Regions from separate parts of the Homo sapiens genome. Here region 2 is linked to region 1. Evidence: promoter capture Hi-C in human tissues and cell types (Jung and others, 2019). All regions are on one chromosome and are shown on one strand. The core of a region is centred on a gene start or on the middle of the fragment in contact, and the rest is flanking DNA. Distances in the headings are between cores, read along the strand shown. Region 1 holds the start of MRGPRE (MAS related GPR family member E). Region 2 overlaps NUP98 (nucleoporin 98 and 96 precursor).

Region 1 (5,605 bases), core at 1,435-3,934:
ACTCCCTTTCCCCTGGCCATGTCCCTGCTGTCCTACAGCAGGACTCCAGCCCTCTGCAGGGTAGGGGGCACATGAGGAGGCTGCATCCTGCTCAACGTTGCCCGCCCTTTCCCCATGGGGAGAAGAGGGAGCTGTCTGATGATGGGGCTGGGAGGGGCCCTGAGCTTCCATGGCGTCTCCAGCCTCCCTCCATCCCCTCCCAAGGCAGTCGGCTCACGGGGACAGGTCCTGCGGGAGGGGTACTGAGTCCTGGGAGGCAGCACAAATCCCAGGGGACCTAGGCTGGAATCGGAGTCTTCATCACAGCTTTGCCAGAAATACAGCAAGTAATAGACTCTAGGAGACTGCCAGGTGCTCAGAGCCGGAGACATGCCTGCAGATACCCGGCCCCATGCTGCCCCTGTGGTTACCTGGCCCGTCATGTGTCTCTGAGTGCTTGGTGACCCCAGCTTCTCCTCTTGGGGTTGGGGGAGAGGGGATGGGGCCTTGCCTCTCCCCAGAGACTGGCTGGGGTCAGGGGCCGACACCAGGTGCCCCTCCCACCTTGGTGGTGGCTGGTCCTCCTGTGTCCTGGGAGGGCTGGGGTTTGGGGTGAGGAGGGTGGGGGTACAAGCAGAAACCCCCATAGCTGGTCTTAGCGGCTTCTTCCCACCTCAAGGTTGTGCTCAGAACCCCTGCTGTCTCCCTCCAGTGATAGGAGCACCCGAGACCATGCAGGGGGACGCTGCGGTGCTGGGATGCTGGGGAGAGGTGGCCCGGGGCGGGGCTATCGCTGAGCACAGAGGTGCCAGCCACCCCGTGAGGTGCTGGTCATCTCCCTCGGCTTACACCCTCAGCTCTGTGGTCTTTTGTTTGACTGGGGTGAAATGACAGCCTGAGGTTGTCCCCGCCTCAGGGGTGGGCATGGGGGTGGGGGGCTCAGTGGAGAGGAGGCCCCAGTCCCAGCACCTCAGGAAGCTGAGTCCTGCCCGTGGTCCAGTCTGAATCTCCTGCGGGTGGAGTCAAGCCTGGTTGGAGATATAGGGCTCTTCCTCCTGTCCCTGTGCTCCATCCTAGCACCCAAGGCCCCGGGAAGGCAGACCATGGGTGGGAGGTGAGGTGGTGGTGGAGGGAGCCCCACCTGGGCCAGCATCATCAGGAGGACACCCTGAGTGGGGCAGACGGGGCATCACTGCCATGGCAGGTGGGGAGATGTGGGGAGGGGGACAGATGCTCTCCTACTCAGGATAGCTTGGGGGGGTCACCAACCCTCAGGCCCAGAGGGAGGCAGAGATGAGTTTTGGGAGGTCTTAAGTCTGTTGATGGTGGACCCCCTCCCAGGCACAAGTCCCGTCCACCCATGGACGGAGCTATCTCCGGGATCTACCAGCAAGCTCCAGCCCCAAAGCAACAGGTGGGGTTTCTCCAGCCTGTGGCCCACCAAGGGCCATGGTCCCTCTCCTATCTCACCTCCTGCATGGCTGAGGAGGACACGGGCCTCATGGGTGGGCCCCAGGGAGAGAGCATGGCAGGGAAGCGATGGACATAGAGGGAGAGGGGAGAGTGCAGGAAGGGGAGAGGCATGAAGAGATGGGGGACAGAGAAGGAAACAGGGAGGAGAACAGGGGGACAAGGGGTTAGAGCCACGGAGCTCAGCCAGACCCTGCTGCTGCCCCCTCTCTGCTGTGACCCTGGAGGAGGTCTCCCTGTGGGACCATGTGCCCCACTGGGGGCTCGGGAGGGAGGCAGAGCTCTGTAGGAAGGGTCGCCACAGTTGGGTTACAGGACTGTGGGGAGTAGAGGAGTTTGTTGCATCCTTGGTGAGCAGGAGGAAGAGGAGAGGGAGGAGAAGGAGGGGAGGAGGCGGGGGAGGACGATGGAAGAGAACAGGAGGGAGGAGGAGGAGGGGGAGGAGAAGGAGGGGAGGAGGCGGGGAAGGACGATGGAACAGAAGAGGAGGGAGGCACAGCATTCCCCATCCCTGGGTGGTCCAGGAGTGGCTCTGTGTCCCGCCCAGACAGCCAATACTGAGAAGCCCTGAGGCTGAGCACCCAGGTGTGGCAGGGAGGAGAGGGCCTATCCCCGGCTGCCCCCATGACTCCCCTTGAGAGTCTGCACCTGCAGGGAACACTCTAGATCATGGAGGAAGCAAGGCAGACAGGAGACAGAGCCACCGGGGGTGGGGGGTTGGGGAGCCATCACCCAAGCTATCGTCCTCTTCCAGACTCAGCCCAGGGCTGGCTGCGGACCAGGTGGTGCGGCCCGTCAGAGGGCGGAGGCTGCAGCCTGGAGAGCTCCCTGTTGATAGCATCTGCTGTTGCCCACGCCCCACCCCTGCCACCATCTGGCCAGCAAAAGAGCCCAGAAAATGCCGAGCGCCTGGGCCGGCCCCAGAGACCCACCCTGATCCAGCCACCTGCGCTACTCACCGTTTGGGGCAGAGGACTGGCCGAGCCCTGCCTGCTCTGACCCTGGGCCTTGGATCTATCCTGGCCGCGGCCGAGGGCTCCAGTCCCCAGAGCCTCTGGGCGGCTCCTGTTCAGTGTCCACCAGCTCCTCCGAGTCACATGGCATCCAGCTGGAATGGGGCCGGTCAGGAAGGTGTCTCTCTGAGGACCCCTTCTCTTCCGCTCAGCTCTCGCCCAGGTGTGGACAGCAAGAGAAACCCTGAACCTCCCTGCAGCCTTCCAGGCAGGCCTGGCAGGCAGAGGAAACCACGAGATCTCTGGGTGGAGCCCAGCCAAGCTGTGACTTCACTGGCACTCCTGGCTCAGAGACACCAAGCCCTGTAGGGCCCTTTAGGGACCACTTCTTTCCATCTGTGCCTCGGAGGGGCCGGCTGAGAGCCGGGCTACCGGCGGAACTTGTCCTTGCAGCAAAAATGTGTTTTTCTCTCCGCAGAGCACAGGCTGCCGGCCCCAGCTCTCCAGGCAGTGTGGGACCGCGGGGAGGAGCGGGGATGTGCGTGAGGCCGTCCCTCCTGCCTCGTTCGCAGGCACAGAGTAGATGGCCGGTGTCAAGAAGCTGCCGCGCGGTCCCCGGCCGAGGAGAATCAAACACATACAGCAGCGTCAGGCTCCGGGAGACCTCGTGAACTCAGTGATTTCAAGTCCCGTTTCAGACCGTGCCTTTCCTTCCAGTGCCCTGCCTTAAGGGAGATCGCAATTGACGTGCCAAGAGAAGGAAAACAAGGTCATTTTTTGGCCTCTGTTCCTCCCCGAGTCCAGGCCCTAGCAACTCTTTTCTCATCTTTGTCTTTAGAAAAATCTCCGAGGTAGAGAAGAGTGCAGAAACAGCACGGATTTGCTCCGGAGCGTTTCCCACTCTGCGCAGTCCGCCTGACCTCTCCTCTTGCGGACCAAGTGAGAGCAAGTTTCCCGCACGTGGCCTTTGACCTGTCACTACATCAGCAGGCATCCCCCAGGGCACCGGCATCCTCCATCCCCAAAACGGAGGGGCCGCACACAGGTCGTCTGGCGTCTGTGCAATGCTGGTGTCTGATGAATGTGTCGCGCTGGTGTCTGACGTCCATGCGGGGCTGGTATCTGACAGGCAGCAGTGCCGCTTGCTGAGTTGTGTCTCAGCTTCAAATCCTCCCTTCCTAAACCAGGATCCGAGCTGCCAGGTGCCCGAGGCTCTGTAAACCATGCCTGGGCTCTGCCACCGCTCTGGGAGGCCCTACCAGTGGGTGGTCACTCAAGGATGGCCCAGGGGTGTGGGGGAAGTGCTCCCAATCGCCCCACACGTTCCAAATATCTCACCCTTCTAAGTGCCACACTCCCTCCAGTTGTCCCACAGTTCCAATAGTGCCACTCCTTTCAATTGTCCATCCCACCCTTTCATAAGTTCCATGCCTTCCACTTGTCTTACACCTTAAAGCTGTCCCACCCTTCCAAATGCCCGACCCTTCCAATTGTCCCACTCCTTCCAACTGTCCCACTCTTCCATTTGTCCCACTCTTCCATTTGTCCCACTCCTTCCAATTGTCCCACTCTTCCAATTGTCCCACTCCTTCCAATTGTCCCACTCTTCCATTTGTCCCACTCCTTCCAATTGTCCCACTCTTCCATTTGTCCCACTCCTTCCAATTGTCCCACTCTTCCAATTGTCCCACTCCTTCCAATTGTCCCACTCTTCCATTTGTCCCACTCCTTCCAATTGTCCCACTCTTCCATTTGTCCCACTCCTTCCAGTTGTCCCACCCTCCAATTATCCCACCTTCCAATTGCATTAGCCTTCCAACTGTCCCACCCTTCCAATTTTCCCACTCTTTCCAATTGTCCCAGCCTTCCAATTGCCTCATCCTTTTAATTATCCCACTCTTTTAGTTGTCCCCCTCCTTCCAATTGCCCCATTCTTTCCAATGGTCCCACTTTTTAAATTGCCCTTCCCTTGCAATTGTCCCCCTCTTTCAATTGACCCACCTTTCCAATGGTCTTACCTTCCAATTGATCCACCTTTCCAATGGTCTCACCTTCCAGTTGTCCCACTCCTTCCAGTTGTCCCACTCCTATCAATTGTACTGCCTTCCAATTGCCTCACTCTTCCAATTGTCCCACCCTTCCAATTTCCCCACAGTTTTAATTGTCCCACTCTTTCAATTGTCCCACCCTTCCAATTGTCTCACCGTTCCAATTGTCCAACCCTCCCAATTGTCCCACTCCTTCCAATTGTTCTACCTTTTTAATTGTCCTACCATTCTAGTTGTCCCACCCTTCCAACTGTCCCACTCTTCCAATTGTCCCACCCCTCCTATTGTCCCACTCCTTCCAGTTCCCCTACCCCTCCAATTGTCTGACTCTTTCCAATTAGTCCATCTTCCTTTATGTTTTCGAGCTTCACTTTCACTCCCTGTCAGAGTTGCCCCAGCAACTCTCTCTCTCTCTCTTTTTGAGACAGAATGCCACTCTGTTGGCCAGGCTGAGGTGCAGTGGCATGATCACAGCTCACTGCAGCCTCCAACTTGCAAGCTGAAGCATTTTTTCCTCAGCTTCCTGAGTAGCTGGGACTTCAGGCATGCACCAAGTGCCAGGCTACCAGAGGCTTGTCTGGCTAATTTTTAAATTTTTAACTTTATAGAGATAGGGTCTCGATACATTGCCTAGGCTTGTCTCTAGTTCCTGATCTCAAGCAATCCTCCTGCCTTGGCCTCCGAAGGTGCTGGGATTATAGCTGTGAGCCACCATGCCTGGCCCGCAGCAACTTTCTCCACCTTGTAGCAGCAGTGGACTTCTGCAGTTTTCCCAGCACTTGAAAAACCAGACCCATTGTTTCCTGTTGGAGACACTGGCCACTAACTGGCTGGGAGCCCCCTCAGGGGCCTGAATTACACTCTAGTCGTCCCCACTGGTCCTAAATTTCAATAGTTTTAACTTCCTTCCTTTGTTCCCCGTGCCCGGGGTGGCGGCTCTTTTTGCAGTTGTTTCTTCTCTAATACCTTAGTGTTCCCTTTGTACGTGTTTGGTTTTTCAGTCTCTAGTGAACAATTCTTTAAGATCATCCCTTCAAAATTATAGGTAGCTTCTGCCTACTGACTGTGTCCCTGCTGGTACTGAAAGGTCCTAGGGGAAACATGGTAATTTAGGCTTGGTTTGGTCATGTCCTTGGCCTTGACTGTCGTGATGAG
Region 2 (5,605 bases), core at 82-2,581, 460 kb after region 1:
CAGATCTACCACTACTTCTGTGATACTAGGCAAGACACCTCAGCTACAAAATGGAGGAAAACAGCCCGGCATGGTGGCTAATGCCTGTAATCCCAGCACTCTGGCAGGCCAAGGGAGGTGGATTACTTGAAGTCACGAGTTCGAGACCAGCCTGACCAACATGGTGAAACCCCGTCCCTACTAAAAATACAAAAATCACCGGGCGTGCTGGTGCACACCTGTAATTCCAGCTACTTGGAAGGCTAAGGCAGGAAAATCACTTGAACCCATGAGTTGGAGGTTGCAGTGAGCCAAGATCGCACCATTGCACTCCAGCCTGGGCAACAAGAGCGAGACTCTATCTTAAACATAAAAAGGAAAAATGGAGGAAAACACTGGGCACGGTGGCTCACACCTGTAATCCCAGTGCTCTGGGAAGCCAAGGCGGGCAAATCACTTGGGGTCAGGAGTTCGAGACCAACCTCGCCAACATGATGAAACTTTGTCTCTACTAAAAATACAAAAATTAGCCTGGCGTGGTGGCACGTGACTGGAGTCCCAGCTACTCAAGAGGCTGAGACACGAGAACCACTTGAACCCAGAAGGCAGAAGTTGCAGTAAACAGAGATTGCACTACTGCACTCCAGCCTGGGTGACAGACCAAGACTCTGTCTTGGTGCAGGGGGGAGGGAAAAAAAAAGGCCGGAGGCAGTGGTTCACGCCTGTAATCCCAGCACTTTGGAAGGCTGAGGCAGGCGGATCACCTGAGGTCAGGAGTTCGAGACCAGCCTGGCCAACATGACGAAACGGCATCTCTACTAAATATACAAAAGTTAGCCGAGTGTGGTGGCACGTTACCTGTAATCCCAGCTACTCAGGAGGCTGAGGCAGGAGAATCGCTTGAACCCAGGAGGCAAACGTTGTAGTGAGCCAAGATTATGCCACTGCACTCCATCCTGGGGTACAGAGCGAGACTGTCTCGAAAACAAAAACAAAAACAAAACAAAAAACAAAAAAAAAGGGGGGGAGTAGTAAAGCAAAAGCTTTTAGTAACCTAAAAGGCAGTACCTTTACCAGAGGTTTAGCCTTACAGTCAAAATAAACAGGAAGAAAGTGGAGTTTATGAATCAACAGCCCTAAGAATCTGACTCTGGCATGCCTTAAGATCCTCTCCTACTACATGTTGGTGTCCTGGTGAGCATAACCTTTTTTTAATGATTCATAATAAGTTCATACAAGATCAATCCCAAAGATAAATTCTCACTGTACAAATGCACAAAGACCATAAATAGTACCAGACGGAGGCTGGATGTGGTGGCTCACGCCTCTAATCCCAGCACTTTGGGAGGCTGAGGCAGGAGGGCTGCTTGACGCCAGGAGTTTGAGACCAGCCTGGTCAACATACAGACCCCATCTCTATTTAAAAAATAAAAAGAAAAGAAAACAGGAAGCTACCAGGCTAAATGTGTAGTGACAGTGGAATGCAACAAGCCCTTTATATAGCTTACTGATTCTGGCTTTTCCTGTGATTTGTTCCTTATAATCCCAAAAGTGGCAAAACTCTTCAAAATAAATCCAGTCGATGGCTCCAATTAGTTGGCTTTGGATAAATTAGGTTCCAACAATCAAGGTTTGAATAAGGATCTGATCATATTAGATTAAGCTGAACTATGCCATCCTGTATTCTTATCAAGACTTTATGGCCAGGCACGGTGGCTCATGCCTGTAATCCCAGCACTTGGGAGGCCAAAGTGGGTGGATCACTGGAAGTCACGAGTTTGAGACCACCCTGGCCAACATGGCGAAACCCTGTCTCTACTAAAAATAAAAAAAAAGACAACTAGCTGGGCATGGTGGCAGGCACCTGTAATCCCAGCTACTCAGGAGGCTGAGGCAGGAGAATCGCTTGAACCCAGGAAGTAAAGGTTGCAGTGAGCTGAGATCGTTCCACTGCACTCCAGCAGTCTGGTAAACACACAGACAGACTCTGTCTTAAAAAAAAAAAAAAAAAAAAAAAAAGATTTATATCTAGGCAGTCATTAAGTACTTGCTGAATTGCCTCATTAGTGAAAGGGAACTTAAAGAAGTAAATATATGCATATAAATTCCTTTTAAAAAGCCAGTGAGTACCTCAACCCAGAAATTCAACTTCTATATATTTATTTGAATGAATTGATATAGAACATATTTTATAGCAATTCAGAGTACTGTTTATAGTTTTAAAAAAAGTCTCAATGTGAAGGAAGAAATTTACTACTATGGTACATTTATACATAAAAGAATGCTAAGAAGTATTTGATAATTATCTGTATTACAGGGCATTTGTAATGTGCCACATGAAAAGAACAGAATATAATACACAGCAGGATATCACCTTTGAAAAGTTCACAAGCATATGTCACAGTGTCTGGACATATTTGTATGTATTACAAAGTAAAGAATTAAGTACAAATTGCACATTAAAATGTTTGCAGTGAGTAGTAGTCACAGGATTTGGGTGATTTTGATTGATAGCTTATCTATGCTTTCTAGTTTTATTACAAATGTAATATAAAATTTAAATTTTAATCAAGTAAACAATGTTTAAGGTCCTAAAAAAAGAATTAGAAGACATAGTTCGGCTGGGTGCAGTGGCTCACACCTGTAATTCCAGCACTTTGGGAGGCCAAGGTGGGTGGATCACCTGAGGTCAGGAGTTCGAGACCAGCCTGACCAACATGGTGAAACCCTGTCTCTACTAAAATACAAAAATTAGCCAGGTGTGGTAGCAGGCACCTGTAATCTCAGCTACTTGGGAGGCTGAGGCAAGAGAATCGCTTGAACCCAGGAGGAGGAGGTTGCAGTGAGCCGAGATCGCACCATTGTACTCCAGCCTGGGCAACAAGAGTGAAACTGTCTCAAAAAAAAAAAAAAAAAAAAAAAAAAGTCATGGTTCCTATTCTATAGGAATAGGTGGGTGTGATCTACCCACCTTGGCCTCCCACAGTGCTGGAATTACAGGCATGAGCCACTGAGCCCAGCCGCACTATGTCTTCTAATTCTCTGTTTAGGACCTTAAACATTGTTTACTTGATTAAAAGTTAAATTTTATGTTATATTACATATTCCACGGGAACCAGCAATCTTTCTGGGAAGTCCGCAATTAATACTCATAGGCTAGAAGCCAAAGGGAAATGCACAATTAGCGGGGAGCGGTAGGAGGCAGTGAGTAGGAAGGCGACAGAGGCGCAGAGAAGGACCATATGCCTTCCCCACCTGACTGCTGGGCCAGAGAGCAGGCCTCACTGATCCTTTTGCCTGTGAGGTAGCTGAATACAGCCTCCACAGGGCTGTTTTTTTGGGTTAAGGAGACTTCCTCTTCAATCTGAGGTGTGGCAGTACAGGATAGCCAGCGGGAGAAAGCTCTTCTTCGCTCCAGAATTTGAATGTATTCACGGGGTTCATTTAGCTGGCTGTCAAGCTCCTTCAGGTGGCCCCATAGGGCTTCACATAGTGTCCATGTCAGGCTCCAGTGCTTCACAACTAAGGCAGGAAGAGAAAAACAATGTTACGAGACAAAGTCTTACAACAACTTCACAGAGGGCATCCTTCTAACTGTGATGTTAAAAATACATAAATTAATAGACATCTCAAACAACCACTCAAGCTGATTACCCTGAATCTGTCTCTACCTCACTCAACTTCGTCTTACAATTTCCAGAAGTACATAGTATAAATAAATGCTTGCTCATATCATGTTTCTGTGGTACTTACATAACAAATGTAACCGTTAAACAGGTTCCCCAAGCCTAATTATGGCTAGTGTCATCTCAGATGATATCTACTTTGATCAAATTCTGTCTATAAAAATCAATCTACAAAAGTACTGTTTATCATTTAAGCCACTTACAAGTATGCACTGGTAAAATAACTTACACATTTGAAAAGACAATGAGACGATTAAGTAAATACAAAGAACTGAAGGAACATAAACAAATCTCAAAACGTGTGGCATAGGACATTCTAAAACAGCCCATTTTTCAATAAACGTGATTTGCTAAACAAAATGATTTTTCTACTGTTTGAAATATTAATAAATTAGATAACCCCTTTATCAAAGTATTGATTCAGAAAAACATGGTCATGATAGATGAGAAAGGTAATCTTGAAAGAAGCCAGGAAGAGGAATTACAACAAAGCTGTTGAGAAGACCAACAGTACTTGAGCTGGATATGGAAGAATGGATAGGATTTAGAAAAGCAAGAAGGGGCCGGGCTCGATGGCTCACGCCTGTAATCCCAGCACTTTGGAAAGTCGAGGCAGGCAGATCACGAGGTCAAGAGATCGAGACAATCCTGGCCAATATGGTGAAACCCTGTCTCTACTAAGAATACAAAAATTAGCTGGGTGTGGTGGCGCGCGCCTATACTCCCAGCTACAGTGACAGAGTGAGACTCCGTCTCAAAAAAAAAAAAAAAAAAAAAGTAAAGCAAGAAGGAATGTATTTCTCTCCCTATGTTCTCTGGATTAGGTAAGAAATTCAATTTTATAAATCCAAGGATTTGACTTGCTACAGTTCTTTGTGGAAGAATTTGTACATTAATGGGTAAAAGAACAAAGTGACAAGAACATAGTGACAATTTCTTCTTGCTTGGGAATCTGCTTAGTTAAACTCAACCTCAGAAAATGACAAGCACAGGCATTTACCTACTAGACTGGTGCCAGGAAATTCATCCTCCCGTGAACATACGCTACCACCACTATTATTGGGACATCAAACATTAGAAACATAGTGTGTACTCACTTTGTGCTTCTGGTAAGTCTCCTGATGCTTCTTTAACCCAATCTGCATAGTCATGAATGACAGCAACTCCCAGATTGGGGACAATGAGAGGACACAGTTCATCCACATGGACAGTGCTGTGTTTTAATTTGAGCTCCAGAGGTGTCTGATATAATTTCATGTCTTCATCTGGCTTTCTTTGTCTCAAACTGAGTTTTTCTAAGTGAACTTTGAATGGGGACTCAGTTAGGCTACAAGAGCAAATGAGGAATAGAATAGAAAATGAACCTAAGACAGAAGCTAGGATTTTTACTTCAACCAAACCACTGTTTCTTTTTATGATTACAAACGGAATGCAAACATTTCACTGTAGTTTTAAAGAAATTTTGTTTCTTAAACTATACTGAACTTATCTGCTATATACTGGGGAAAAAAAATCATCTGATCAGTGCATTCAGAACACAAAGGCTTCTTAGGCCAGGTTATAACAAGCATGAGAATCCTAACAGATTTAGAACTGGCTAAAACTCAAGGGCCAAAAGCTATTGTGGGATACCTGTTTCTCAAATTATACTTGGGTATCAAAAGTCATGAGGCTAAGCTTCTAGATACTAAAGAACTGATTCTAAATTACAATGAGCATATAGCTAAGCTAGGCTTGTTCCAATTTTTTTTTTTTTTTTTTTTTTGAGATGGAGTTTCACACTGTCGCTGAGGTTGGAATGCAGTAGCGTGATCTTGGCTTACTGCAACCTCTGCCTCCTGGGTTCAAGGGCGATTCTCCTGCCTCAGTCTCCTGAGTAGCTGGGATTACAAACATGCACCACCACCCTGGGCTAATTTTTGTAATTTTAGTAGAGACAG

The links. Contacts are between HindIII fragments. The study calls those that stand out against the background at their distance.
Region 2: a fragment that was not itself captured here is called in contact with the fragment with the promoter of MRGPRE in region 1 in 1 of the 25 tissues and cell types used here (small bowel).

The regions. Positions count from the first base shown.
Region 1 is chr11:3,229,733-3,235,337 of GRCh38, forward strand. It overlaps MRGPRE (MAS related GPR family member E), which reads right to left and starts at 2,685. Exons shown (of 2, transcript NM_001039165.4): 1 at 2,409-2,685. The HindIII fragment of the contact is 8,659 bases long and covers 1-5,605 here.
Region 2 is chr11:3,695,848-3,701,452 of GRCh38, forward strand. NUP98 (nucleoporin 98 and 96 precursor) reads right to left here. Exons shown (of 33, transcript NM_016320.5): 24 at 4,763-4,992; 25 at 3,235-3,501. Among named protein-coding and RNA genes, the nearest start is that of CHRNA10, 27 kb to the left of the region's middle. RefSeq lists a silencer at 588-808. The HindIII fragment of the contact is 3,702 bases long and covers 1-3,182 here.